Regions from separate parts of the Homo sapiens genome. Here region 2 is linked to region 1. Evidence: promoter capture Hi-C in 16 types of primary human blood cells and fetal thymus (Javierre and others, 2016). All regions are on one chromosome and are shown on one strand. The core of a region is centred on a gene start or on the middle of the fragment in contact, and the rest is flanking DNA. Distances in the headings are between cores, read along the strand shown. Region 1 holds the start of RALGAPA2 (Ral GTPase activating protein catalytic subunit alpha 2). Region 2 holds the start of SNRPB2 (small nuclear ribonucleoprotein polypeptide B2).

Region 1 (4,444 bases), core at 1,173-3,672:
CAGCTATGTTTTCTATAGCTCTGCCACCAGACTAGAGTGTGTTATCACACCTTGTCTCTGTAGAGGTTTTTTGTTTGCTTGTTTTTTCTAATTCAAATGATATTTCAGAGTAGTTTTAATTTGCATTGCAAGTTTTAAACTTTTGATCTCATTATTCTTATTTGCTGATTACTGTAGGACATTTATTCAACAACACTTAATGTCTGCATAACACTCGGCACTCTATAACTCCAGGGATAAAGAATTCAGTGCAAAGCAAGTGAAGCCCTCAAAGAGTTCACAGCCCAGCAGGAACGAGTTTAGAAAGAACAACAGAAAATAAGAAGAGCCATATGGAATATGCAAGTGGGTGAAAAAGTACCAACATAATAATACTATATGTTTCTTCCTTTTTAAGAGAAGAATTGGAGTTCTACATTTTCATTACTGGGTAAAGGCTAGATATGATGGGTGCGATGAATTTATATGCACAGATGCCTGTTTCTGGCATTACCAAGCTTGATAGTATCACATGTTCACTGTACACTGTCATTTATTCCCACATGTATCTAATCGCTCAGCCTCCTTAACTGGATTGGAAGCATTGGAGGTCAGGAGGATGCACCTTATACATCTTTTATCTCCAGGGTTTAGAATCATGCCTTACACATTGCAGGTGCTCAATAAATGTTTGATGATGATGGCAGCTTGCTTTGCAATTAAAAAAATGGAGTTTCCTAAGACAAGTATATTCTATTTTTTCAATCAGTGTAAGGAAAAGTATCTTCTCCTAAAGGAATTGGACAGTGAACATTGTGGTTTACTATGTGTAATCAGGTACAAGCTCAATTGCTGTAACGAAGACTCTCAAAATGCCTTGACTTAAGATAAGACATTATTTTGCTCTCTTGTTACACTTTTAGAAGTTTGTGGTCCTGATCTGTTATCATCTGGGGACTCAGGCTGGTAGGGCCGCTCTGCCATCATCTTGAGCATGGGGCTTTCATCTCCGGGTCTGAGAGTGATCCATGTTATTGGGTTTATCAGTAGTCTGTTCTTTTTTATTGCTGAGTAATATTCCTTTGTATGAATGTGTCTATACAAAGGAATATTACACAAATCTAAAAATAGAGAGACGCTCTAAAACTGTGAGTTTATTTATTTATTTTTTCCTTTTCGCCTGCCTGGTTGAAATATGTAGGACTACTTTAGCTTTTTATTGTATTTCATTTAATAAACTTTTATTGAGTGACCCTATGGGCCAAATACTGTGCTGAGGGATGGGGATACAAAGGCGTGTAAATCCTTGTCTCTTCCCTCAAGTTACAGTTCAGCTAGAGGAGAAAAAGACAGTTGTGTTGTCCCAATTTGGATGGAAACCACGTGATTCTACCTTAAGTACTTGCTGAAAAAGCTGAAAGGATGTCAAAACTTGCAGGATTCGGATGCCACTATACAATCCTACAGTGTAAGAAATCTCCTGACCATCTTTCAGCTCAAAGTCTTGCCCCAGGGAATAAGCGCCTGGCTTTAAAAAGTATACAGGCCTGAGTCAGATCCCTCAGGTTCTATTTCTGGTTCTGCTACTGGATCGCCATGTGGCTTGCACAACAGAGAACGCACCCTTCCTACAAAGAGGCAAGATCCCAAGGAGCCCTCTGAGCGAGCGACCTCCATACCCCAAGTGAGGTTGGGTTCCAGGAACCTAGGGGCCGGCTGAACTCCTCACCGGGGCACGCTCTTCCCTAGTGCCAAAGCAACTCATTTTAGTGTGAAATTAGAGCTGCGATTTCGGCACGGTCAGAGGGGCTTCGACTCGCTCCCTTGTGTGAATCCAGAAGCTAAACCTAAAAATAGTTTGCATTTGAAAAGCCTTGACACTTTTCTTACTGAGATTTTTGGGCGTGTGTGGTTCACGTTGCACTAGAGGAAAATGGGGTGGGCGCGCAGGAGGGAGAGTGAAACCACGGGCGATCTAGGCTGCCGGGGCAGGGGACGGACAGAGGCCGCCCTGCGCTTCTGCGACCCTGGAAAAGAGGTCGCAGCGCGTCGCCTGCTGGAGAACTTCATTTCCCAGGAGCACTTGCGGCCCGCGGCAGGGCGGGGCGACGTGCCCAATGCCGGCCCACTGACTCCCATCGTGCCGAAGACCGCCAGCCTGATTGGAGGACTGTCTCGCGGTGCATCTCGGGACTTGTAGTACAACGTGTGCGTGAGAGAAGCTCCTTTGTGATTCGAGGCGCCTTCTCGGCCCTCTGAGCGCGTCCCCGCTAGGTTTTGGCGCGGACGGGCTAGTGTCCCGCCAGGAGAGTTCGGCCTGTGTGCGCGTGCGTAGCGCCCAAGGGGCCGGCCGGCACCTCCCGCGGGGCGGGGCCTTCGGTTCCCCGTCGACACCGCCTTCCTGCCCCGCCCCTCGCCGTGACCGGCCCGCCCCTCCTTCCTGGAGACACAGCTGAGGCGGCGGCGGCGGCGGCGGCGGCGGCAGCAGCGGGGCTGGGGGCGGCGAGTGGCCCGCGCGACACGCGCCGGCCTCGACCCTATGCTTTGATTCGCGTGGCGCAGGCGCCTACTGCCCCGCCGGCGGGGCCCGGGCTTCCTGCCGCGGGATGTTCTCCCGAAGGAGCCACGGGGATGTGAAGAAGTCCACCCAGAAGGTGCTGGACCCGAAGAAGGACGTGCTGACCCGCCTGAAGCACCTGCGGGCGCTGCTGGGTGAGGCGCGCGCCGGGCGCGGGGGTCGGGGCGCCGGGTTAGGGGCACCTGCCGGGAGGGCGCTCCTCTGTGCAGGGGTCGGTGGCTGGGAGGCTGGGGAGGGGGATGGGTGGGCGTCCGACCCCCTTCCCTGGATCTGGGCTTGGACCCCCGGGGCTTTGTTTCCAGAAAGCCGCAGCCTGGCCCTCGGGCACTGCTCCCGTCGCCCTCGAGTTAAACTTAGCCCAGATTCTCGCTGGGCGCCTGCGCTCCCGGAGAACCTGGAGGCCGGGCACAGAGGTACCTGTCCCCTGTCCTCCCAGCAAGTGAACTGGATCCCAAGTGGTCATCACGTGCACACATTGAACTGTCACCTCCCCCTTTCATTTTTAAAATTTTATTTTTGAGTCTGAGACCCTAAGTAGACCGAGACCCCAAGTGAACCCAGCACAGACCTAATTGGGCTCTCATCTCTGTCATCCCCCTTTTAAATTTTATTTTTACTTTTGAGTGTGAGACCCCCATATAGACCGAGATTCCAGGCGATCCCAGCACAGATTTGTCATCTGTCTTCCCATGCTGCTTTTTAAATTTAATTTTTATTTTGGGTCTGGCTGCTTCAGTTTCTTTGTGTCCTTGGTGTGAAGGGGCCTTCTCTTCCTGCTTGGAGAGAGGGGTGGTTTTCTTGGGTTCAGGGAGGCTGCTTCTCCTTTATTACCGGCATGACAGTGATGCTGTCTGCCACCTTCTGGTTTATGGCCTGCCAGGTGGAGGTTCTGAGGAGCTCAGGTGGGCTTGGAGTTGACCTGTGATGAAGCTCGCCCCTGTGGGTGTGAGGTGTCCACAAGGCTTCCTGTCACCTGCTGCATGTGATCTGTAGCTGGTTCGCCTAGGCTATGTTTTGTTTTCTGTATTTTTTTACATCCTAAGTCTTAACTTTTCTTTGGGATGAAAACACCTTTGCTATCTATAGACACACTTACCTGTGTATTTGGTGGCGAAGGAAAGAACACCTTATGTTTCTTCCAGGTGTCTTTTAGTCCCAAAATTCACAAAAATCGCCTAGTGCTAATGTGTCTGTCACTTGAAAGAATATTGCATAAAATGATTTAACGTGTGAAGATTTTAAATAAAGATCTTGTTCATGAGATCAGAAGTTGCTGATTATTTCTATTTATATTCTACCTCTGAGGGGGAGAAGAACCCAAGCCAAACCAAACCACACCTGATTTTGCCAAGTGAAGTTATTCACAATCTCACATACCTTGAGGTTACACTGACTTGTTCAGTTTGAAATGAAATGTAAATTAGTTGCTGTTACAGGGATTCGTTTTCAAGACTTTTGAGAGTGAAGTGTGGAGAGTGAAGTGTGGCGTTCTTGGTAAACTGAATTTTCTACTTCCTGTAGATACCATGCACGCACAGGTTGCACAATACACAGGTTGCATTGTGTGGAGTTCCTGGTAGTGACTGATTAACACCTACTGCAGGGACATTTTTGATAAAGGAGAGTTGAGCTGTGTTTTAAAGCGTTTGATACTTTGAGCCTTTTTCTGTGCTTTAGCGTTTAAATTTTTGTTCTGTCCAGGTCTGCAAGATTAAGTTGGCTACATTTTATAAAGGCAGAATCAAGTAAACCTAGATCAGGTTATTTCTTAGCACACAGTACATTGTTCCCATTCTGAGAAAGTTGATTCTTTTCAAGTTTGTAAAATTGTAGTTTCACTCTAAGGTGTAGGTCTTATTTTAGGGAACTTTCTTTTATCATTTCACT
Region 2 (4,444 bases), core at 1,164-3,663, 4.0 Mb after region 1:
ATATTGTTGATATAAATTGTATGATTTGGTCTGATATCCATGTTTGTGTTAAATTCTTCAGGAGACAGTAAAAAATCTGTTATAAAAAGGAAGGAGTAAATTATACTGGACTGTGGCATAAGGACACAACACAAGAATTATTAACTTTTCATTTCTCTTTCAATCCCAGTTGTCAGAAAATGTCAGTTTGGCTGTAGCCTTTATTGTATCTCCAGCACCTACTAGCCCTCCTTTTCATACAGAAGAAGAACAGTTTCTCACATTCAAAACTTGGAGCACCAATACCTAGCCAGATTTTAGTAACACCATTTAATTCAACACATTTATTTTTACACTTACGTTTCACTTATGACACGTGACATTTTCTTTCCACCTCCTCAATGAAATAATTTTAAAATGTAGATTTGAAGAAAAATGACCAAAGTAGCAAATGTACATCCAGTAAAAATCATAAGGTTAGACATTAATGAAGTTTGCCAACTACTTAATGGGTGCACTTACAAAGTCCTTCCATACCTATTAATTTGTATACAGCATCACCAAGCTGTCTGGACTCCAAGGTTATCTCTAACCGACTTGAAAGAAAGGAGCTCAATGACAGCAGTGTGGCATGACGATTAAACTCAGATTCCAGTATCAGCCAGATGTGAATTCAAATCCTATTTATGCTTCTTACTAGCTGTTTGCCTGAGGGAAGTTCCTTAACCTCTCAGGTCCTCATCAGTAAAATAAGAATGGTAACAGAACCTACCCAATAGAACTCAGAAGACTAAATGAATTCTAGCACAGTTCTGCATCAGCGGTAAACACTTAAGAGTAGCTATTATTAACAGCTATTACCAGGTAAGGAACTTGCCTAAGGTCACACAGCTAATAAGCATCAGGCCTGGAAATTCAGCCCTTGCTTTCTCCTCTACACTTGTCTTCCTCATATACCACACTATTGCATTTTTTACATGGTTTTTACTTGCAAATTGTGAACTTGGATGATTTCCTTGTGTGCCCCACATATTCCTTTATCTCACAGTATTTACAGAGCATCCACTGTATGTGAACTGCATTGGATGATTGACAAGGGAAGAGCCTACAAGCAGGGGCTGCACTTGTGCAGGTAACAGGTAAAACGTAACGCTTCTCAAAGCCTTGCGACCCCCTAAATCGAAATCTGGAGAAGGGGCAGGGGTCGCAAAGGAGACGACGAAAGGGAAGTGACTGAGGCAGAGGTCAAAGTGAAGGTAGGGGGACAAAGGGGAGGCTCTTGCAGGGTTTCATGCGAGGTTTGATCGTGGGCTGCGTTGTTACAGGGACACCCTGAATTACCCGCCACCACCAAAAGGGAGCCGCTGGAAGACACCTGAAAGCGCAGTGAACTGTCCACGCCTCGCACGAGCAGACTGACATTAACTATCCTTTACTTCGTACGCGCAAGCCTCCCGCCTCTCCAGACACAAGCACCTTCGCCCAAGGCCCCCTAACGAAGTCCAAGGGAGCTGCCACGCGATGCCCGGCCCCAGAGTCAGTCTCCTCACCCCCAAGCCTGCCCCTCCGAGATCCAAACCCGGGCCAAACGCGTACCCACCCCAGCTTCGCGCTTCGTCCGCTCCCAGCTGCAACAGGGGAGAAAAGGGCCGAGGAGCCAGGAAAACCGAAACAGCGAGGTAGAAGGCGCACGAACCCACCTAAGGCCTACGCCGACTACTGTAAGAACCAAAAGCAGGAAACGGAGCCAGGCACCGGAAGCAACGTAGCCACGCTCCTCAATCGAGCGCCGACAAGTCTAGAAGCCGAGCACAGAGCCGATCGATGCTTCCGGGTCTCTGGCAGCCAGGGCTGGCAATCTCTCTGCGCGTGCGTCTGCCCTGCGGGCAGGAGAAGAGTCCGGAAATGGAAATGGGGAAAGAGAAGGGGGTTGTGAGGACCATGCTGCGAGGGAATAGTGAAGGGGAGTGAATCATTTCCCCTACCACGACCTTGCGAAGCTTTACCCGGCGCAACAGTGCCTTCCACCTTTACAAATCCTATGTAATTTTACAGGCGCTGCCCCTCATGCTATGGGGCAGTTAGTCCTGGTTTCGCCCTTCTTTGGGCTCTAGCTACCCCGGTTTAAAATCACCTTTAGGATAGCCAGTTCCTCCTGCCTCCGAGTCTCCTCTGATTCATGGGGCTCTGCAGGAACTGTCCTCCAACACTGTGCTGATGAACTTGAATCTCAGAGGCTACTCAGTTTGAGGGCCCAGGGCAGACAGAACTGGTGTCTGCCCAATTCTCATCTCTCACCAGATAAGGCAACCATGCTGACTAGAACCCAGTCATCTGTAAGATCATCTGCCTCAATTCACTCGAAAAAATAATTCCCTACCACCCTTCCCACTCTTTTCTTCCAACAAAAGGTCTAGATTTTTCTAGGGTATTCTAAGGAGTTAGTATTTATGCCAAGCTGAATGGGAGTTCCCAAAGTGCATGCATTCATTCATCCATCCATTCATCAGATGTCTGTAAAGCATCACCTGGAATATGAAATGGTTGTTAAGAGTCAACTGGAACCTAATCTTGTACCCTCTGCTTAACTAATCTCTCTGACCTTCACTTTTTTCATCTGTAAAATAGGGATCCTAATAGTACCTCCTTCTAGTTGTTGTAAGCATTAAATGAGCTAAAATAAATGTAAAGTGATTGGCACATTGTCAGACACAATAAATGCTCAAAAATGTTATTTCTGAATTCTGGCTATAACTTGGTTCTACTGGTGAGGCAGGTAGCTGTCAAATAAGTTGGTTTTATCAGCTGGGAATTTTTATTTTTTAAAAACACCCAAAGTTGCAACAACTTGAAAATAATATAAGCTTTTTAAGGGTGGGGTTTTTGTCTGCTCTGTTCACTCAAGTACCCTTAGTAATGGGAAAAGTGACTGATAATTAATATGCATTGGATAATTCAATGAATGACATGGAAAACTAGGCAACAGTAAAACAAATATGCTTTGAACATGCACCTGAGTGTAGAGAATGTTAAGGGATCACAGAAAAGCATCGTTTTATTATATAGATCTAAAACTAGAAGAAATGGCTGAGTGTAGTAGCTCACACCTGTAATCCTAGCATTTGGGGAGGCTGAGACAGGAGGACTGGTTGAGTCCAGGAGTTCAAAATCATCCTGGGCAACATAGTGAGATCTCATCTCTAAAATAAATAAACCAATGAGAAGAAATGTCCTATCTCAGTCAAAGAATTATATCTTTAACAAATTAAAAGAGAATATAAACTTAATATAAACAATTTCTAAATAACAAAGGACAAGCTGTTTTGCATATTACTATGAGCATCTCAGCAATTAGTTCTGTTTGATAATAATGAGGATGGCTACACTACTGAGAATAAACTATACTCTGTATTGTATAAGGGGATCTAGCCAAGAGTTGATAACTGTTAAAAGAGAATAAGATGTGATTATACAAAAACACTCCAACCTGGGAAGAAAATACCACAAGAAACACAGAGGCCTGAAGACAGACTGCATGTTGTGTTCTATTAACAATTAAATTACAGCTATTGTACATTACACTGTGAGAAGGAAATCATCCATTGCCAACTCAGCCGCAATGGTCTGCATGCACTTTTCCAGGTTCTTCTAAAAAGAGCCAGTGCATTTTCCTGTCCTTGGGCAGTCACTCTGGGCATTCCAATAACCCGTTAATGATTCTCAGTGGTTTCCTGAACGATTTGAGAAGCCAGTTATTGAGAACAGTACAGGAAGGGAATGATAAGGATCGAATAGCTTTTCTGGTTTTGTGAGAAACCTTGCATAGCCTGGCTATGTAACTATATTAAGAATATTATAGCAGCTAAACTATGGTCACATGTACTGTAAAACATCATCACTTTATAACCAGATCCACTTCTTGAGGGTGAGATCAGGAATCAGATGTCCAAAACTCACATTTTTAAAAACTAGAAGAGCAAATGAGTTTTGTTAGTTCTGCTCAGTCTGTTCTTTCACATTTGGGTTAGGTATCGTGATTTATTTTCCTGTGAAACAGGCTTTTTTTAATCGAGAGAAACAAGGAGGCAGCGTTATAACCACCCTATCCAAGTGTCATGTATTTGCAGATGATAAAACTTGCTTATTTTGGGAGTAGCAGAAAAATTACTACAAACAGTAGGGAATAAAACTGTGCCAAGATGTCTAAATTATAAGGAAGATAACTGAGGTGTCTCTTAGTGACTCTGAATACACATACATTTCCCTACCTTATCTGCACGTGTTTTATGTTTCTCATTAATTGTTTTTGGTATCTTGCTGCAGTAGTTTTAAGAAGGAGCCATGTATAAAGGAAAATGCACCATAAAACTGGTGGATAAATTTTGTCTTATTTATGTTACATAGAGTCACAAAATGTATGGCAATTCGTTTGTATCTTCTTTCTCTCCCCAGGTGGTGATTACAT

What was found. Contacts are between HindIII fragments. The CHiCAGO score rates a contact against its expected background, and 5 or more counts as called.
Region 2: a fragment that was not itself captured here is called in contact with the fragment with the promoter of RALGAPA2 in region 1 in 2 of 17 cell types (naive CD4 T cells and naive CD8 T cells); the score reaches 8.4 in naive CD4 T cells.

Annotation. Positions count from the first base shown.
Region 1 is chr20:20,710,622-20,715,065 of GRCh38, reverse strand. It overlaps RALGAPA2 (Ral GTPase activating protein catalytic subunit alpha 2), which reads left to right and starts at 2,422. Exons shown (of 40, transcript NM_020343.4): 1 at 2,422-2,691. The coding sequence starts at 2,586. RefSeq lists enhancers at 1,962-2,161, 1,986-2,280 and a silencer at 2,272-2,531. The HindIII fragment of the contact is 11,955 bases long and covers 500-4,444 here.
Region 2 is chr20:16,727,300-16,731,743 of GRCh38, reverse strand. It overlaps SNRPB2 (small nuclear ribonucleoprotein polypeptide B2), which reads right to left and starts at 1,718. Exons shown (of 7, transcript NM_003092.5): 1 at 1,580-1,718; 2 at 1-76. The coding sequence starts at 41. RefSeq lists a silencer at 1,261-1,310 and enhancers at 1,461-1,580, 1,631-1,680, 1,739-2,607. The HindIII fragment of the contact is 864 bases long and covers 1,982-2,845 here.